Linked DNA regions of Homo sapiens: region 1 is linked to region 2. The links are contacts of gene promoters, found by promoter capture Hi-C in human tissues and cell types (Jung and others, 2019). All regions are on one chromosome and are shown on one strand. The core of a region is centred on a gene start or on the middle of the fragment in contact, and the rest is flanking DNA. Distances in the headings are between cores, read along the strand shown.

What was found. Contacts are between HindIII fragments. The study calls those that stand out against the background at their distance.
Region 1: the fragment with the promoter of JPH3 here is called in contact with a fragment that was not itself captured in region 2 in 1 of the 25 tissues and cell types used here (H1 embryonic stem cells).

What each region holds. Positions count from the first base shown.
Region 1 is chr16:87,599,901-87,605,011 of GRCh38, reverse strand. It overlaps JPH3 (junctophilin 3), which reads right to left and starts at 2,504. Exons shown (of 5, transcript NM_020655.4): 1 at 1,484-2,504. The coding sequence starts at 1,865. LOC124903750 (a long non-coding RNA gene) reads left to right here and starts at 2,829. Exons shown (of 2, transcript XR_007065172.1): 1 at 2,829-3,000; 2 at 3,907-4,487. RefSeq lists an enhancer at 3,403-3,965. The HindIII fragment of the contact is 15,663 bases long and covers 1-5,111 here.
Region 2 is chr16:87,858,157-87,863,496 of GRCh38, reverse strand. All of the region lies in intron 1 of SLC7A5 (solute carrier family 7 member 5), which reads left to right. Among named protein-coding and RNA genes, the nearest start is that of MIR11401, 6.9 kb to the right of the region's middle. RefSeq lists enhancers at 719-1,476, 2,235-2,992. The HindIII fragment of the contact is 9,544 bases long and covers 1-5,340 here.

The DNA of each region.
Region 1 (5,111 bases), core at 1,255-3,754, 260 kb after region 2:
TGTGCCTGCACGCGCGCGCACACACACACACAGGCCCACAGCCTGGAACCAAGGGAGCACCGTCTGCTCCCGCCCGGCCCTCAGCGCCCCAGGGTCAGGGAAGCTCTCCAACCTGCTCCATGAAAACAACAACGGCACAGAAAAGGCCGCCTGAGACCGGGGCTGGGCACGGCTTTGACAGGCAGGAGCATTATATAATTAACTGCCCCAGACTCCTCCTCCTCTTCGGGTAATAACGAACCCTGCTTTTCAGTTGCATAAGCCAAAATAATAATTACTCTCCAGCCCCCTGCCACTCCTGGATGTGGCCGTGGAGCAGGTGTTCCGAGCTTTCTTCATGAGACTCGGAGGCAGCGAGCGGGCGGGGAGGACTAGAGCACACGTACGCTCAGGATTTTTATTCTCGGCAGAAGCACAAGTCATTGCTGCGTCTCACTCCCTTCCCAGGCATCCATGCCTGAAACAGGCGAGCCGCCCGAGGGAGGCAGAGGACCCAGTGCCTCTGAGGATAAGCTCCCACATGGGAGTGGACTGGTCGGGGAAGCCAGTTTGTTTGGGGTCTGGCTTCCAGGAAAGGACCGGCTCCATGCGTGTCAGGTGCACTGAGGAGTGGATATCGGAGAGTCCAGGCAGGCGGGCAGCTGCAGAGCCGGCCAAGGTTCCCTGCACAGAAACCATCTTACAGCAGCAGCAGCAGCAGCAGCAGCAGCAGCAGCAGCAGCAGGCAGCTCCCTGGCTTCCGGCCCCGGCTCTGCCCCGAATGCGGTGGCATCTTAGAATGAAGGCACAGATCGATTCCCTCAACTAATGGTGAAAACGATGCAGCCACTGAAAGACGAGATTCCTGGGCTCTCACTGAGCAGATGGGCCTCCCTCCTCCCTCCAGCAGCCTGCTTCGACAGCGCTAGTCCGCGTCCAACCACCTAGAAGTGTACTGCCTGGCTGTTTTGGTTCGGGTTGGCATCCCCCGCCCCTAGCGCTCCCCATCACTCCCTTTCTCTCGGCTTGGGCAGATTCGGGGCTGAGGAAGGCCCTCGGGCGCCGCAGGAACACCAGAAGCGAAGCTGGGGCCTGATCGAAGGGCGGCCTCCAGGGTGGGGGGCAAAGCCAACAAGGGGAGGGGCCCTTCTCCCAGCCCCCTCTGCCCTTGCTGGGTTCCCCAGGGCCGCGGGCCCAGCCTGGCCCTTCCCGCAGGTCTCCGGCCTGCTGTGTCCGACGCACGGAGGCTCTGCTGGGCCCCGCCTGGCTCTGCCCCTGGAAAGCCCCCAACACCCTTCAGCTGGCACAGGGGCACTGTCCCCACCAGGCAGCGGGGCAACCTGTAGCCAGGAGCCGCCGTGGCTTCCAGGGAAGCCCGGGAAAGGCCCCTGGTGCCCACGGCCCAACCGGAGGACGCAGCTCAACTTCCCCAGAGATCCACAGAAGGGGCGCGATCGGAAGCACGTCCCTCCCGCCCCGGCCCGGCCCGGCCCGCGGCACCTACCTCCGTCCGAGTAGGTCTCGGTCCCGTAGCCGTCCTGCAGCCCGTTGCTCCAGGTCCCTTCGTATTTGGCCCCGTTGCCCGCGCACTCCCGCACCCCGTAGCGCCCCTTGAATCCGTGCGTCCACTCGCCCTTGTACACCCACTTCCCCTTGCTCTCCAGGCCGATGCCGTGGCGCTTGCCCTGCGCCCAGGTGCCCTGGTACGTGTTGCCGCTGGGCCAGGTGTAGACGCCCAGCACCTCGAAGCCGTGGCTCCACGAGCCGGTGTATTCGCCTTGGCCCTTGGGGCCGGTGCAGACGCCATGGCCGTGCGCCTTGCCGTCCTCCCAGCCTCCACAGTAGGACCCTCCGTCGTCAAAATTAAACCTGCCCCCACTGGACATGCATGTAACTCGGTTCCAGATCCCGCAAACGGTGAAAACGGACTCAGGCGATCGACACAGCAGAGTCGCGGCCGCCGGCGGCCCTGGGTCGCGAGCGTTTTCCGGAGGAGAGGAGGACGCGGCCCCGGAGCGCGGTCTCGGGCGCGGGCGGCCGCGGCGCCGGCTCCGGAGGAATTTCAGTCAATCGGGGGCGATTATTCCTTTTCGAGCTGCGCCGCGGAGCCTGACCAGCGTCTCGCGCTCCCGCTGGAGACAGGACCGGAGGGGAGGGGGAGGGGAGGAGGGAGGGAGGGGGCAGGAGCGGCGGCGGCGGGGCCCGCGGCTCCACCTCAGCGGCGAGAGGGCCCCTCGCCGGCAGCCCCGCGGGGAGGGCGCCGCGCCGAGGCCGGGCGGGGGGCAGCTCAGGCCCGGGCCGCGGCCCCCCACCTGCGGCTGCCGCGCTGCGGGCGCCCGAGGGCGGCGGCGGGGCCCGCGGGCGGCGGCGGCGGCACGGGCGGCGGCGCTGGCGGCTGCACCATATTGGGGGCCGCGGGCCGGGCGCGGGGCGGCGGCGGCAGCAGCAGCAGCAATGCGGCGGCTCGGGCGGCGGCGGCGGCGGTGGCGGCGGCGGCGTGCGCTCCGGGCCCGGCTCGCGCGCTCGGGCCGCGCGGCGCGCGCCCGCACCCCGCCCGCCCGCGCGCCCCCGCCCGCCCCCCGCCCCCCGCCCCCCGCCCCCGCCCCCGCCCCCGCCCCCGGAGCGCGGCGGTCCCAAGAGGGGCGCGGCCCAGCAGGCTAGGGCGCGGCGCGCGGGCGGGGACCCCGGGCGCCCCGCCCTCCGCGCCCCCAGCCCCGCGCTCCCCGCCCTGGGCTTCCCCGGGGCCCCCGCCGGACTGGAAACCGGGGTCCAGCCGGGGCGCCCCCGCCCCCTCCGGGAGTGGGATTTAAAGGCACAGGAACTGCGTCATGGGAAGGCGCGCAGCACTCAGGGCGCCCTCGGCCCCCTCCCGGGAGCTGGGCGGTGAGGCCTGCAGAGCAGGACCTGCCAGCTGAGCGCCCCTACCCTCGCCCCTGCCCGCCCCCGCGCCTCGCCCCTCCCGCCGGGCTCGGATCTGCCCCGCCTGCCCCTGACTCGACTGAGGCCCTTTGCAAACCACAGGTGGTTTTCTCCGGTGACAAACAATGCTTCCTTCTTCCTTCCGGGCAGCTTGGGTCCAAGAGTGGGGGGAGGGGGGCTTACCCCAGAAAACAGGGATTTGGCGAGTCCCTCTCCCCTATAAATTGAGTGAGAGTCGGGACACACGCGTGTATCTTGGAGCAAAGTCACCCGAATTCCGTGCGCCCTGCGCCCTGGCCAACAGGTAGCGCCCCCCCACTCGGGGAACGGTCGCGCTTTTGGGGAGCAAAGTGGGACCGCCATTCGGGCGTTTCTAGGTCTCTCTCCAGACATACTCTCACCCTCCGCCCCTCTTCCCACGCACAAGAGAGAGTCTGATTCTTGGATCCGAGCATCCTGGGATCCATTTAAAATGCATTTCCTGGACCATAAATCCTCAGGCAGAAGCCGGCGTCCCCAGCCCTCCTGAAATGCGTGCGGGAAATGGCAGCAGACCGGTGCAGTGGGCTGATGGGGGTGTGGAGGCTGCCCAGGGTCCTCGCTCCTGGGAGTGTGGGCCGGTGACCGCAGCGCGGTGAGCCAGAAACTGCAAGCCAGGCCTGGAGCCTGAGATTAGGACAGGAGAAGAGGTGCGATTCGGAGCCTCCAATCAGCCAGGAGCCCTGCTCAGATCTTCCCCTGTCCGAGAGAATCAGGATGGTCCCCACTCTTGGCTCACGGGGCTCTCAGAAAAATCAGCCCCTCCTGGGAGTCCCAGAGTTCAACCTCAGTCTCTTGCCTTGGGCACCAAAGCTCCCTCCCCAGAGTACCAGCAGCCAGGAGGACAGTCACCTCCTCATACACCCACTGTCAATGAGGAACATTTAGGGCGGTCGGCTTTGTTTTGTTTTGTGCAGTTACAGTGATTCATTGAGCTTTCTAGCGCTGTCTCCCTGTGCCCCTCTACAGAAGTTCTCTAAATGTCTGCGGTGGCATCATTGGACCAGCTACGTCTTGGACTTTATTGGAAGCTGCCAAATTGCTTTCCAAACACCTGGAGCAACTGACCTCTCACCCTTCAGTGTGCCTGGGTTTGTGGTTCTCTATTTCCTGGCCAGCACTGGTGTCCTCAAACTTCTGATTTTCTTTCCATTTATTTTACTTTGTTCATCTAAATGGGTATGAAATAATATCTCTGGGCTGTTTCATGTCCATGGAAATTTCTCTGTTGTAAATGTGTGGGCCAAAGGAACTGCACCTTGTCCTCAAGAGATTCGGGTCGAAACCTTGGCTCCGGGGCCCACCAGCAGTATGGCTTTGGGCAGTCACCTAATGTCCCTGAGCTCAGTTTTCTCATCTGTAAAATGGAGATGGCAGAGTTCCCATAGGGTTACCGTGGGAATTCAAAAGCTAGGCGCCCAGCACTCAGTAAGCGCTCGGGAAGTGGGAAGTAATGTTATTGGAAGCCAGCCCCCCAGGGAGGGTCATGGATTCCTGCATGGAGACACCCAGCCCTCTGCCTGTTGAAATAAACATTGCCACCACTCGTATGTTCTACTTTTCATTTCTTCCATTTTATTTCCAACCATTTTGCTGCTGAATCAGCAGCCCTCCTTCACACAAGCAGTGGATTGCAACTGAGATCCTATTGAAACACGGTGGTTGCTTCCAAGCAGTTACTGGTCAGCACCTTCCACCTTTGGCCAGTGTACACTCCGCTCCCTTGCAGTTCCAAGACCCCCACCTCCAACTGACCCTCTCTCATCTCCTGCAGTCAGTTACTCCAGCGGTGACAGGCTCTAGTCTCTGAAATGCAGATATTACAGGCATTTGTTCTGTGCAATTTGGAAATCACCGCCCTCCCGATAAAGTAGGGCTGGCAGTATTGATTTCACTTTGGAGGAAACTCTCCAAGCCTATAAACGTAGTACCACCCAGCCGTTTAAAAACAAAAACCAGGGAGAAGGGTAAAAAAGCTGTAACCCACATGTGAGCCAGGCACTAGGATGAAGACAGCACATTAGTCATCTCATGGACTCAGGTGATTTGGAATTACACTCTCCTTTTTAAAAGAATCACTTTTCCCCACCAACGTAAAGTGCCTTGCCAGAGGGAAAATAATGACTGGGCAGGATTCGAGCCCAAGTCTGCCTGGCCTTCCAGCCTGCACCCTT
Region 2 (5,340 bases), core at 1,939-4,438:
GACTTGGCAGCGTGTACTGGAAATTCAAGCGATGCTGGGTTTTATCAGAAGGCGCAAAGGCTGGAGCTGAGATTCTGGCTGGGCCTGGATTTGGTTTGGGCAGTTTATCTGACCTCCCTGGGCCCCAGCTGGCTCTGCATAGCGAGTAGGGTAGCATCCACTCAAAGTCCCGGTCCACTGTGGCCCGGCACTGATCCAGGCGAGTTCTCAGTAAGTGGGAACTCACAGGTTCAGAAGATGCTGTGGGCCTCAGGGGCTTCCACCTCCAGGGAGGTGCTCTCAGAAGAAGGGCCCGATGGGCTCACTGCATCGTGGAGAAGATACCCTGGCTCAGTCTCAGTCACTTCTCCAAGCGCATAGGTGTTCGGGAAGTGGCCTGCAGACAGCTCCTCCATGCCTTGAAAGCAGAAGTAGCCCCCTCCTGTTTCCCTGTCCCAGTTGGGTGAAGCATGGGGGGCTGCTGAGACAGTCCCAGGCGTGCCGTCACGCAGGGGCAGGCCGTCCGTCGGTCTCGCGGGACTCTGGCTGCGGGTGGCTGAGGACACCTGGCCTCATGGGAGACGGTGCCAGGGTCCCTGGAGTGAGGTGGCTCTCCTCCCCATGGCTGTCACTCCTCAGCAGATTGGTGTGGGCGGGTATGCGTTTAGGAACCTGTGAGCTGAGACACTGTCCAGCTAGCATCAGGCCAAAAGCAACCAAGGCTTTGAGAAATCCACCTGGCCCCGCCGAGCCTGTTTCTGACTGTGGAATGGGATTGGCCCCAGCGCCAGGTGTCTGGGAATCCCAGGCCTCTGCGTGTGAAGGTGCCAGTTGCACGGGCTGTGACCGTCCCTCCACGTGCCTGTATCTCCTGCTCACTGTGCACATGGAGCAGCCCTCAGCCTCACTGTCTTCTCCTCTGGCAAAAGAAGGAAGGAGCAAGGGAACAAAGAGAGGGAGGGAAGAGCCAGAGACAGGAGCCAGGGTTTCCTTTAGTCTGGAGCTCTGGGTGCGAGATGATGTCACCCACCCACGCTCGGCACAGGCCCAGGGTCGGGGGGCTATGGGTGGAAGTAGGAATCGCCACAACTGTCTCTGAGCCCCTCCCTAAAGGGTGAAGGGTGTAAGGGGTGGGTTTTGATGGCTGTGGGCTTAGCTGTGGTCAGTGGACTCAAAGGCCAGTTGGCCAGTTAGCAGTGACCAGAGAGCAGAGGGGGCCTGTGTGTGTTTTGCCCCAGGGTCTTCAGGCTGCCTGGCTGCCTCTATCTGCCCCCTGGGTGTCCAGCACCACCCCCCCAACCGCTGGGGTATCCAGCACCTGTAACCTGTAGCCCCGCTTCTCAGTCCAGGCCTGTTCCAGGGCCCCCCTGGGGTATCAAGCACCTGTAGCCTGTAGCCCCACTTCTCAGTCCAGGCCTGTGTAAAACCTGGCCCCGGGTTGGGTTTTGGGATCCCTGCACCCCTCCACCCCCAACCCCCCACAGCTGGGATCCTGGCTCAGCTGGCAAAGGTTCTGCGTGTTTAAGGAGCTGGGTGGGCCCCAGAGCTCAAGCCGTGGGCTCATTGCAGGCGGCAGCCAGTGATTAGTGCTGAAATCTGACTTTCCCAGCCGCACATGAAAGTGCCGCCGGCACCTAGGCAGGTCACGCTGCATCACGGGATTCGGGGCAAGGCCGTAGGGGGAGCTCACAGAAGCACATGACCTGAGCCACACAGGAGAGCCTAACGGGCACTTGTGACCCTTTTTTCTTGGGTCACAGACCTCTTTCATAATCCAGCAGAATGTGCAGAATCTTGCCCAGAAATGTGTATCAGCCGCCTTCACACAGAAGGGTGGGTTGCGCAGACCCCCGGGGGCCCAGGCCAGGTTGAGAGCCACCCCCAGGAGAGGGGTGTCCAAGGTAGGGCACACTCTTGGACCACCTCTTGGCACCTCTTGGCCACCTCTTGGCCACCACTTTGCACTCCAGCCTTTGAAGCCAGTGATAATCCCCAATTTACAGCTGGGGAAACTGAGGCAGGAGCGAGCCAGGAGCCAGGGGCCACAGTGCCCACCTCTACACTGAGGCCACCATTTGTCATCAGGCATAGGGGAGCACAAAGCCACGCCTGGGGAGTCTGGTGGGTGCCAGGGGTCTGGGGAGGTGTCAGTCAGCAAGACTGGGTGGCCCAGTCGGCCCAGGTAAGGACACAGGTGGGTCAGAGGCTCATCTGTGTTCCCCAGCATCCCCTAGGGGCCCTTTGCGCTCCTCCACCCTTCTCCATCCTTCCCAGACTCACATCCAGGTACCCTGGACAGCCACAGGGTTCTGCCCCCCAGTAGGCCTGGCCCTCCCTGGAGCATCACCTGGATAGCTGGCCATGGGCAGGCCTTGCCTGGCCCGTCTGCAGGGACAGGACACGTGTATGCATGCAGATTGGTACTGTGTGCCCGCACGCTCCCCAGAGGCCCTGTGGCAGCACCCTCTTCCCGCTGCTGCCCTTTTCCAACAGGAGGGCCCCCCACAGCGTCTCCTTCCCTGATACTGGCCGAATCCTGAATTCTCCCTCTGGAAGGCGGACCCTCCGGGGTGGCCACAGCACGTGCGTGCCTCCGGGAGTGTGGGAGGCGTCTCTCCCTGCATCCCTGGCCGTCAGACCACCCCAGGTGGGGACCGTTCTCTGGCATTGCCCGCCCCTCCCCTGCCCTAGGATTTGCCCACTACGTGAGGAATGAGCACCGACCTCCTATTCTGGGCCTTGGAGCGTGACGCCCGCAAACTCGATCCCTGCTGAGTCATCCTGACCTCGGGGTGGGCCAGCATCTGTCACTACTGAGACACTGTATGTGTGAGCTGCTTGTTAACGAGAAAGCCAGACTCTGTAAAATGTTTGAAGAGATTTATCCGGAGTCAAATGTGAGGACCAAGGCCTGGAGGCCCTGAGGACATGTGCCCCAGGGGGTGGGCCACAGCTGGAGTTCATACCTCCTACAAGGACAGAAGTTACAGGCAGACATCAGTCAGTACATGAAAGGTATTTGTTGGTTCTGCCGAGAAAGGCGGGACAACTCCAAGGCGGGGATGGGCTTCCTGGTCACAGGTGGGTTCGAAGATTTCCTTTTTCTTTATATATATATGTGTGTGTGTGTGTGTGTGTGTGTGTGTGTGTGTGTGTGTGTGTGTGTGTGTGTGTGTATTTTTTTTTTTTTTTGAGATGCTTTTGTTACTCGGGCTGGAGTGCAGTGGTATGATCTCAGTTCACTGCAACCTCCGCCTCCTGGGTTCAAGTGATTCTCCTGCCTTAGCTTCCCGAGTAGCTGGGACTACAGGCATGCACCACCATGCCCAGCTAATTTTGTGTTTTTAGTAGAGACGGGGGTTTCACCATGTTGGTCAGGCTGGTTTCGAACTCTTGATCTCAGGTGATCCGCCCACCTTGGCTTCCCAAAGTGCTGGGATTACAGGTGTGAGCCACCGTGCCTGGCAAAAGATTTTCTGATTCACAATTGGTTGAAAGAGTTATTAGCTAAAGACCTGGTATCAATAGAAAGGAGTATCTGGGTAAGACAGGAGGTTGTGGAGACGAATATTGTGTTTTGTTTTGTTTTGTTTTGTTTTGTTTTTGTCACCCAGGCTGGAGTGCAGTGGCATGATCTCAGCTCACTGCAACCCGGTTCAAGCGATTCTCCTGCCTCAGCCTCGCAAGTAGCTGGGATTGCAGGTGCCTGCCGCCACCATGCCTGGCTAATTTTGTATTTTTAGTAGAGATGGGGTTTCTCCATGTTGGTCGGGCTGGTCTCGAACTCCTGACCTCGTGATCTGCCCACCTCAGCCTCCCAAAGTGCTGGGATTACAGGCATGAGCCACTGAGCCAGGCCAAGATCTGTGTTTGAGTGTTAGTGCTGGTCCGCTGTACCTGAATTCCAGAGGGAGGGGGTATAACAAGGCCTGTGTGACCCCCTCTTCCCATCGTGACCTGAGCTCGTTTTTCAGGTTAACTTTGGAATATCCCTTTGGCAATAGGAGGGGTCCCTTTAGTCAGTTACGGGGCTTAGAATTTTATTTTTGGTGTACGTGCTCAAACTGCAGCTGCTACAAAACCAAGGCCATGGTGACCCCGGGGCCAGTCCAGCTTTGTCCCTGTGCTCTCGAGCTGCTGGAGGCCAATGCAGGATTCTGTCCACGGCTCTCATGTGTGGCTTCAGAGCCTGAGGGTTCTTGGGGCCCTGTCTTCACCTGCTACCGTGTAGGGGCCTTGTGAGCTGAGTCAACTGGAAGAGCCCAGGGCCTCTGCAGAAGGCCTGAGCAGGGCCCGGGCACTGTCCCTGGAGCTCTGAGTCCCTCAAGCTGTGTGGCCCGGAGCCAGGCGCTTGACTTCTCTGGTCGTTTGCTTCAGAGCTGGAAGCCTGGGGTGACGTGGGTCTTTGGCAGGGGTCAGGTAGGGGAGGGGCCAGCCAGGAATCAAACATCCCTGACAGGTGAGGGGGCAGGTGAGGAGGGCAGGGCAGGAGCCCCTGGAGCACTTGTGCAGCAGCATCTGGGCCGGTGCAAGCCCTGAGATGGCTTCAGGTCCTGCTCAGAGCTAAGGGCTCCCCGTCACCAGGGATTCTTCCATCACTGCATCTGCAGAGCCCATCGGGATTGGGGAGAGGCCCTGGCCTTAGCTTGGAACAGCTGCATCCTCCTGTCGGGTGTACAGGCTGTGCACTGGTTAAGCCTGAGCGCAGAGTCTGTTCAACGAGTTCATTGTGTGGTATTTGCTTCCGCTTGCTGTTGAGTTGGACTGGCTTGGACGCTGGCCAGGAGCCCAAGTGGACTTGGTGCTTCTCTTTGACAGCCGGGATTGAAAATCCCAGTCAAGTGGCCAGAGCACGAGGGTGAGATTTAGGAGACCTGGATGTCCTCACTTTGCCGCCCAGGAACTGCTGTGTGACTTTCACCAAGTGGGACAACCTCTCTGAACTACGTTTACCCCGGCTATAAAATGGAGGTGTTGGATTGGCTGCCACAAGTGTCCTTCCACCTCCACAATACCGTGACTGGAGCGGGTTTTCACTCCTTTTTCTTGTTAGCATAACTGTTGGAGCTGTAGAGGGTTTGGAGTGGGGCGTGGGTTTCCGGACCACAGATGTGTGAGGCTCCGCACTTAGCCAGCAGTGGCAACTCCTTATCACTGGTGCCCACGGCTTCATCTGTGCCCTGAAGATACTCATGCTGCGGTGACTGGTCAGATTAATGGTGATGCTTTCATGGGGCGCCGTAAGACACGTCCGCGAGGTATTTCGCCCATGCAGCAGGAGGCAGTTGTTCCAGTCTGTTGGAAACAGGAAAGGGAGGCTCAGTCCCTGCAAAGGAACTTGCCGGAGTTCACACAGCATTT